Regions from separate parts of the Homo sapiens genome. Here region 2 is linked to region 1. The links are contacts of gene promoters, found by promoter capture Hi-C in blood cells and fetal thymus (Javierre and others, 2016). All regions are on one chromosome and are shown on one strand. The core of a region is centred on a gene start or on the middle of the fragment in contact, and the rest is flanking DNA. Distances in the headings are between cores, read along the strand shown.

What was found. The method cuts DNA at HindIII sites, captures the fragments that hold promoters and counts their contacts. A CHiCAGO score of 5 or more calls a contact.
Region 2: the fragment with the promoter of ABCF3 here is called in contact with the fragment with the promoter of THPO in region 1 in 7 of 17 cell types (naive CD8 T cells, non-activated CD4 T cells, total B cells and 4 more); the score reaches 10.3 in naive CD8 T cells.

Annotation. Positions count from the first base shown.
Region 1 is chr3:184,376,125-184,380,547 of GRCh38, forward strand. THPO (thrombopoietin) reads right to left here and starts at 2,083. Exons shown (of 6, transcript NM_000460.4): 1 at 1,951-2,083; 2 at 123-280. The coding sequence starts at 135. It overlaps CHRD (chordin), which reads left to right and starts at 3,930. Exons shown (of 23, transcript NM_003741.4): 1 at 3,930-4,342. The coding sequence starts at 4,195. The HindIII fragment of the contact is 10,240 bases long and covers 1-4,423 here.
Region 2 is chr3:184,183,935-184,188,357 of GRCh38, forward strand. ABCF3 (ATP binding cassette subfamily F member 3) reads left to right here and starts at 2,265. Exons shown (of 21, transcript NM_018358.3): 1 at 2,265-2,346; 2 at 2,573-2,720; 3 at 2,862-2,941; 4 at 3,463-3,509; 5 at 3,730-3,827; 6 at 3,927-4,049; 7 at 4,207-4,423. The coding sequence starts at 2,274. AP2M1 (adaptor related protein complex 2 subunit mu 1) reads left to right here. Exons shown (of 12, transcript NM_004068.4): 12 at 1-157. RefSeq lists enhancers at 1,058-1,772, 2,250-2,569. The HindIII fragment of the contact is 6,180 bases long and covers 633-4,423 here.

The DNA of each region.
Region 1 (4,423 bases), core at 833-3,332:
CAGACCCCTTATTTTTGGGAGAATGGGTTCCCCCAGCTTCCTGCCCCCTGCAGCGTGTCTCCTTTCTCTCTCCCCTTCTGTCATGTTTCCATATGGCCCTAGCCCCTCAGGTGTGTTCTCACCAGTCAGCTCCATTCTGGCCGGGGTGTCTGGCTGGCGTGGCTCCCTGTTTGGGGCCTCTCCCCTGAATCCTTCCTGGGGCCATGGAGGCGGCTTAGGCTCTTGCACTTCTGGGCAGAGTAGGGTGGGGCAAAGGCGGGCCAAGGGTGAAGAATCTATCCTGAAAGTAGCAAGAAGAGTGAACATTTAACCAAGTTTCTAGGAAGAGACTGCCTGGCAGGGTGAACAGATGCTGGGGAGGGCTTGAGATGCTGACCAGCCTGGAACTGCCAAAGCCCTGAATTCTCTCACATTTTCTTGTGATGAAAGCATATGGTGTGCCGGGTGCAGTGGCTCATGCCTGTAATCCCAGCACTTTGGGAGTCCAAGGCGGGTGGATCACCTGAGGTCAGGAGTTCGCCACCAGCCTCACTAACATGGTGAAACCCCGGCTCTACGAAATACAAAAAAACTAGCAGGGTGTGGTGGTTCATGCCTGTAATCCAAGCTACTTGGGAGGCTGAGACAGGAGAATCGCTTGTACCTGGGAGGCGGAGGTTGTGGTGAGCCGAGATCGCACCATTGCACTCCAGCCTGGGCAATAAGAGTGAAACTCCGTCTCAAAAAAAAAAAAGAAAGAAAGAAAGAAAGAAAGAAAGCAAGAAAGCATATGGTGTCTCCTTTTTGTCAGGACTCCTCAGTGAATCGGACATGGATTTGGTGCCACCTACCCCTGCTGAGAGCAGCAGGACATGATATGTATACACACATATCTTAATTAGCCTTAAATTCTGAGCAACCTTGGTTGTTAGGTCAGAGAAAATCTGGGATGGGGATAGAGAAGGAAAGTATTGTGGCTTCAGCCTGGAGAAGAGAGTGGAAAATGGGATGCAGGGCCTGGGTGAGGAACTGGCAAACGGGCGCAATATGTTGAGGGGTAACTTCTGCGGTGGGGAGTGGGGCTGGGGAGGGGAACTGCACAAAGCTGTAACTGGGACCACTAGAGGTCAGGATTAAAAGGCGGTATGGGAGAAATTAACCTCTATTCTTTCCCTATCTACCCCCACACATAAAGCCACTGGAGCTTTTCTCTGGACTCCAAGTCCTGAAATACTCCATTATCTGAGGCCAAGAGATGGGCTAACAGTTCTGGGACTTCCTTCCTGAGACCAGCTGCCCAGGAACGGGCACCTGCTGGGTGATGCCCACCTTAGGGGCTTACCTTGTCTTAGGCGCCCACTAACATATCTGTCTCATAGCTCACACCTGCCTCCCTGCCCCCTTGGCAGAACCCCTTCCGGTTCCTTCACAGGACCCCCCACATGGCTTCCTCCTCCTTTCACAAGTTGTGCAAAGAGGCTTGCACCTGATTCAATATTGGGATTTCCTGTAGGTCTGTCAACATGAGTGGGCCCTCCTCCCATTACCCTCTCCTTGCGCCCTGGCTTGCCTGGCCCAGCTTCCCCAGCACCAGATTCAGAACCTTAAGCTAACGAGGAATGACCAGCTAAGAATGGGGATTGGGGCTGTGTCCATCTTACTACTGTGTTTGCTAAGCCCTAAGTGCAGCTCCCTCTCTTATTTTCTCCCTGGGCTCATGTCCCCTTTCCTTAGGGCCAGCCAGGGCTGTGCTGTATTCCACCAAGTAAGTGATCAGTCCCTCAGAAACCAGCACCCCACCCCCTACCCCTGCTCTGCCCTGCTCCTCCCATTCTGGGAAGGCTACACTCTTCTCGACAAAGGTCAGTGCCTGTAGGTTCCAGTTTGCCTGCCCCTCCCCCAGCTGGGAGCCCATTTCTCTTTGCTGTCCTTTCTACCCTCACATAACCCCACACCCTGCTGGCCACTCACCGGGTGGAGAAGGGCTCCAGGACCCAAGTGCACAGCAGGCAGCCCTCTGGGGAGCAGATGGGTAGGAAGACATGTGGCGGTGGGGCACAGCCCCTCCACAGCAGCAGGTCATACGCCTGCCTGGGCCACTTCTGCCCAATCAGAGAAGGGAGCCACCAGACACTGGTGAAGGCCCCCGGAAGTGACGCCTTCTCTTCCCTGGAGCCCCTGCCTGGACCAGGGTCCACTCCTCCACCCACACACACCACGGAGAAGATTTGGATAGGGGGATCCATCTTTTCCTGGACATGGGCAACCTGGGACCTGGAGGGGGACAGGAGCAGAAGTTTTTTTCCAGGAGGAATCTGGCAGGACATTTGTGTTGCTGGGGAAGAAGCACAGAGGTCTTGTTTAAGATTGGTGGGGTTTTCACTCCCTGGCTATCCAAATTTCTTTTCCCTGGACATCATACCTGCTGCTGAAATCCAACAGGATGCTTGCTTTCCTGCTTTTCTTTCTGTAATCCCCTAGGGAGTCCTATCTTGTCATTCCCCCTTTCGAAGTGGGAACACGGATATTGCCCACATGAGAGAAATCTCCTGTTATGGGTTGGTGTTATGGGGAAAGGGTTTGGACGGGTTGAGTGGACTGTCAGGTGCGGGGCACATGTATGTGCGCACACGTGCACTGGGTTAAGCCTGAGCTTAGGTGCTCGTCTGCTGGGGTCCAGTGGCTTAGATGGCTACACACACAGACCTCTGTGCCCAGGGCCCTCCTTTGCTTGTTCTGTCTCCGTCTTCCATCTCCTACCGTTCCACATGTGACAAGAGGAATAACCAGGCCCATGTGTCCCTGTCTTAGGAAAGACAGCTGCTGGACCTCCCCCGCAAATACCTCCCTGCTGGCCCCCCTTTTCCTTTGGCCCTGGCTCTAGCTCCTTTGCTTTCTTCCCAGTCCCAGTCTCCCCACAGTCTCTGTCCTCAGGGGCTTCCTGGCCTGACCTTGATCCCATCATCCCCCTGTCCCCCAGAACTTCCTCAGGCTCTCTCCTGTTCCTCCTCCCCAAGGATGGGCATGTCTGCTGAGAAGTGTGGCCTAGATCCTGGAATTTTCCCGTCCAGCCAGACGAGATGTCTCCCAAGATTAGGAAGGAGGGTGCTGGGATAGCTGGGAGGATAGTGGGTGTGTGTGGGAGGGAGAGACAGGAGACAGGGAGGCAGGCATGACCAGGGAACCAAGAGAAAGGAGGCTGGGAGTGGGCTGGAGAGGCAGAGGGTCCCTTGGGTGAAGGAAGGGGGTGAGAAAGCAAGAGGGGACTGTCGAATGCGCCTGAGGATAAGTTACAATGAGAGGGAGATACTGTCACTCCACAGAAGGGGGAATGCTGCCGGTTTCTGGCTAGGTCCCTGTCCTGGGTAACACAAGAATGAGGAGCGACCTCAGAGAGAAGGTAGGGAGGCAGGCTAGGCAGTGAGAGAGGGTGGTGAGGGTTTGGGGGGCGCTGTGGGCCCAGGCAGGGGGAGATCGGCTGATGGACCTTTCCTGTACGTTGTCATCTTTAAAGACAAGTCTTCATCCTTCGGGCGGAACCGGGTCCTCGCTCACAGAGCGGTCCAGGCCTCAGGCCTAGCCTCTGCCCCTCCCTAGCCTGAGGCTCCCTTCCTGGGCTGGACACCGACCTCCTGGTCCAGCCGCCCTGTGGCCGCCAGCAGCGGGGGGCTCCGGGCCCGCCTCTCCTCCCCCTCTTCGCGCCCCCTGGTCCCTCCCCTCCCCCTCCCCCGCTCCCCCTTCCCCTCCCGCCCCTCCCTCCTCCCCTGCCCGGTCCCAGCCCCTCCCTCCCCTCCCCCACCCGCGATCCGGGCCGCTGCTGCTGGGTCGGACCCCCCGGGCTCAGCCCGGCCCCTCGCCGAGCTGCCGCCGCCGCCCCGTTTGCTGAGGAGGAGGCCCCCGGCCGGGGCGTCGGGCGCGGGGCATAAAACGGGCCGGAGCCGGCGCCCGGGGCAGTAGAGCCGCGTACGGCCCGGGTCAGCGCCCGCCCGCCCGCGCTCCTCCCGGCCGCTCCTCCCGCCCCGCCCGGCCCGGCGCCGACTCTGCGGCCGCCCGACGAGCCCCTCGCGGCACTGCCCCGGCCCCGGCCCCGGCCCCGGCCCCCTCCCGCCGCACCGCCCCCGGCCCGGCCCTCCGCCCTCCGCACTCCCGCCTCCCTCCCTCCGCCCGCTCCCGCGCCCTCCTCCCTCCCTCCTCCCCAGCTGTCCCGTTCGCGTCATGCCGAGCCTCCCGGCCCCGCCGGCCCCGCTGCTGCTCCTCGGGCTGCTGCTGCTCGGCTCCCGGCCGGCCCGCGGCGCCGGCCCAGAGCCCCCCGTGCTGCCCATCCGTTCTGAGAAGGAGCCGCTGCCCGTTCGGGGAGCGGCAGGTAGGTGGGCGCCCGGGGGAGGCGCGGGCGGGGAGTCGGGCTCGGGGCGAGTCAGCGCCAGCCCGGAGGGGGCGCGGGGCG
Region 2 (4,423 bases), core at 1,015-3,514, 190 kb before region 1:
AGTGGGAGGGTTGGTTGCCCCTCACCTCAGAGCTCCCCCAAAGGCCAGTAATGGATCCCCGGCCTCAGTCCCTACTCTGCTTTGGGATAGTGTGAGCTTCATTTTGTACACGTGTGACTTCGTCCAGTTACAAACCCAATAAACTCTGTAGAGTGGAGTTGCTGGCTTAGTGTTGATGTGGGAGCTACATGGGGAGGGAACTGGTGTTGCTCTCCGTGCAGTTTTCTGTACTGAATACTCTAAAGGCTCTTTCCTTGTCTTGTCCCAGTTAGGCCCCTCCTGGGCCATCCAAGCCCTTATCCTTGTGGGTTCTGGGCCCAGGTTTCCTGGCTCCTCTTAGAAAGCCTCAAGGGCATGCAGCCGCAGCGGGCCCCAGTACCCTGGGGATAGATTCTTTCCCTAGCTCCTTTTTATTCCCCCTGGTCCTCGGACTCCTAGGCTCAAGAGATCTTACCTGCCCCAGCCTCTGGAGTAGCTGGGATCACAAGCACGCACCACCACAGCACCCAGCTCTTTCTCTAATTCTTAGGCAGATGTTTTCTAATTAGATTAAGCATAAATTAAGTGTGAAGTTTACATTTGGTCTTGTAGCCATCCTAAGAAATTGACCTTTTAATTCCATCATTTACCCAAGCTTCCCAAATCTTGCTGACTGGGTGGTAGGAGGAAAGATTTGCAAGGAGAATAACATAATGGACTGGGCGCGGTGGCTCACACTGTAATCCCAGCACTCTGGGAGGCCGAGACGGGTGGATCACCCGAGGTCCGGAATTCGAGACCAGCCTGACCAACATGGGGAAACCTCGTCTCTACTAAAATTACAAAATTAGCCGGGCGTGGTGGTGCATGCCGGTAATCCCAGCTATTCGGGGGCTGAGGCAGGAGAATCGCTCGAACCCAGGAGGTGGAGGCTGCGGTGAGCCAAGATCACGCCACTGTACTCCAGCCTGGGCAACAAGAGCGAAACTCCTTCTCAAATTAAAAAAAAAAAAAAAAAGAATATAATGAATCTCCATGTCTCATCACCCAGCTTCAACTATGATCAATGCGTGGCCAGTTCCTTAATATCACATCCAGTTTGTGTTCACTTAACCAGGTGTCTTATCAAATTTTTCCAGATAAGGTCCATTGTGGTTGGTTAATGCTCCTCAAATTTTAAAAATTGATGTTTCCCTTCAGGTCTTGCAATTTTGTGGAAGAAACCAGAGTTCTGTAGTTTACCACATCAGAATTTGCCTGTTGTCCCCATGAAGTCACTTAACATATTCCTCTTTACCTGTATTTCCTGTAAAATGGTTCAATATCGGGATTGATGCCTCATGATGGCAATGTTTAATCCAAAGGGATGAATGGGTAATAATGTAATTTTCGGTGCCACTTTTAGAGACCAATTGGAGGAATATTCACGTTAAATATAAAGCAGTAGCATCATTTTGGAGGAAATTCCTAACTTCCCGAGGGAATCGGTGAAAGGAAATAGCCTTTTATTGGCATTTATTGAGTGCAGAGAAGTCTGCTCAGGGTGTAGGTAGGGAATAATTTATACAGGCCACGTTGTCCTGGTTTTCTTGCCCTTTGGCGGTGGATTTGGTCGTGCCCTGGGGTGGTGGAAGAACTGAATGGGCTTAATTCACAAAGGTCGGCTGAATTACACAGTGAAAAGGCGGTCGCGGCGGGGAGGCGGGTGGCGCTGGCCACCAGGCTGAGAAGCCCGTAGGGTCTGGGGACCCGCGAAAGCAAAGCACTGAGCAGGGGGCTTCTGAGAGTCAGGGACCGGGGTGAGTCAGCAAAGCTCTGGGCAGGCTCCAAAATGGGCCTGACTGGGTACGCACCAGCAGCAGACGCGCCTCGAGGGAGCGCATAAAACCTGGCAAAGCCAAAGTGCTTTATCAGCCGCCTGCCTCTTGGGAGGCTCCCACCCGCCAGACCACGGGTGCCTCGCGGCCCCGATAAACCTTGAGCTCCCAGCCTTTGCCCCACCCCTCGCTCCCGGAACTCCACCTCCCAGAAGGCAGCGAGAACCGCACATGTGGCTAATCTTTCAGCGGAAAAGGTGTCGCGCACGCGCAGAGAGCGCGGCTCCGGCGCAGACTCGGCGCCTCTCCTCAAGGCCCCGCTCGCCCCGCCCACCGGGCTCTGCGCACTCCGCTCCTTTCCTGCGTCACCGCTACACATGCGCCTTGCAAGGAAGGGCGAGATTTCGGGGGCAGGGCGGGGGGCGGGCCTAGGCCGGGGTCTCACAGCGACTGCGCGGACGGGTTCCTGAGTGGAACATGGCGACTTGCGCCGAAATCCTGCGGAGCGAGTTCCCCGAAATTGACGGACAAGTCTTCGACTACGTGACCGGTAAGCAGAACTGAATCGGCCGGCTGGGGAGACCGAAGTGGAGGCCGGGGGAAAGTCTAAGCGAGCGTCGTGCCCGGGACTGTTGCCAGGCCTCTCCTCTGCATGACCTCTTGTCCCGGGGGCTGGTTGGGTCTGGAGCCTGGACTGGGGCCTCTGTCTGGGGTCTGAAACTGCTTGTGTGTCCACCCTACCCGATACCTTCCTCGTTCTACCACGCCCTGCCCAGGCGTCTTGCACAGCGGCAGCGCGGACTTCGAGTCTGTGGATGACCTGGTGGAAGCTGTAGGGGAACTATTGCAAGAGGTGTCCGGGGACAGCAAGGATGACGCGGGCATCAGGGCCGTGTGCCAGCGCATGTACAACACTCTGCGTCTGTATGTGCCAGGGAGTAGGGGTTGATGGGGGCGAAGGGACGGCGAACGGTCCGGAGACAAGAGGTGGGGGAGGAAGATCTGATGGCCATAGAGCTTTTCCCTCAACTCCTAACTCTGCGCTTTCTATCCCTACCCACATAGGGCTGAGCCACAAAGCCAGGGAAATAGCCAGGTGCTACTGGACGCCCCTATCCAGTTGTCAAAGATAACGGAGAACTACGGTGAGAGTGAGGGGAGGTTGAACTAACTGCCCCCCTGTGCTTTTCTCCGCCCCCAACCATCTGCTGCCTGCAGCTTAGGGCTCCTACGTCTTTTCCACAGGACAAGGTTGTAGGAGCTAGTTGATGTCTTTACCGAGGGCAGAAGAGCCCATGATGGGGGTGGGGAGGAGGTTGGAGGGTTCTCCCTCCAAGCTCTTGGGTAGGATAGGAAGCATAAGAGCCTGGAGCTGGACAGACTTGCTTTCACCCCCAGTTTTGCAACTTGCTAACCAGCTGCATGATCTTGTAAGAGTTGGTTATCTGTCCCCAGCCTTGTCTATGCCTCTGTATCCTTCTACGTGAGTTTTGTTTTGTTTTGTTTTGTTTTGTTTTTAGTGCAGGGAAGATAATAGCCATCTATCTGCAGTATTATAAGGTTTTGTAGAAAACATCTGTGTCTGTGCCTGGTTCCTATTAGTCACTCAAAATGTTAGTTTCCCTTCCCTCAGGGAGAAGGTGACTGCTTTTCTTATCGCTTACAGACTGTGGAACCAAACTTCCAGGACTGCTAAAGAGGGAACAGTCCTCGGTGAGGAGGAGGAAGCAAGGGAGGGGACTGTCTGTGATGGGGTTGGGAGTTGACTGTCTAATTGGAGTATCTTTTGGGGGGATTTCTGACTATGTCTTTTCCTGAGCCTTTGAGTCTGTTCATCATGGGTAAGTTAAGAGGGTTTACTCGAGATGTTCTCTCTTGGGGTTCCTTTCTGAGCCTACACCCGAGAGTGAAGTCGATGTGTTTGGACCCTTAGACAGTGAATGCAAAGAAGTTAGAGAAGGCCGAGGCTCGACTTAAGGCAAAGCAGGAGAAGCGCTCAGAGAAGGACACGCTCAAGACCAGCAACCCTCTGTGAGTGGGGGAAGCATGGCTCAGAAGAGAGCAGAGCAGCTTTTGCCTGGACAGAAGGTGGTGGGGAGCACTAAGAGCTGTCCATTTCTCCCTTTAAAGAGTCTTAGAAGAGGCATCAGCCAGCCAGGCAGGCAGCAGAAAGGAGAGTCGGTTGGAATCATCTGGCAAGAACAAATCCTATGATGTGCGAATTGAGAACTTTGATGTGTCTTTTGGCGATAGGTGAGGGAATAGTGGTGGCAGGGGTTGGCTTTCTTTTTCTAATTAGAGGACAATTTGGAGAGGTGAAACGGGGCTATAAACAATGTTAGGTTTGTCATTAAACTTGCTGTGCACCTATTTCTAGAGCATCTTTGGTCTCCTTTCTCCACTCCTGCAGAGTACTGCTGGCTGGAGCGGATGTGAACCTGGCATGGGGCCGCCGTTACGGGCTGGTGGGGCGGAATGGGTTGGGGAAGACAACGTTACTGAAGATGCTGGCCACCCGGAGTCTGCGGGTTCCAGCCCACATTTCCCTGCTGCACGTTGAGCAAGAGGTTGCTGGAGATGACACTCCTGCCCTGCAGAGTGTGCTGGAGAGTGACAGTGTGCGAGAG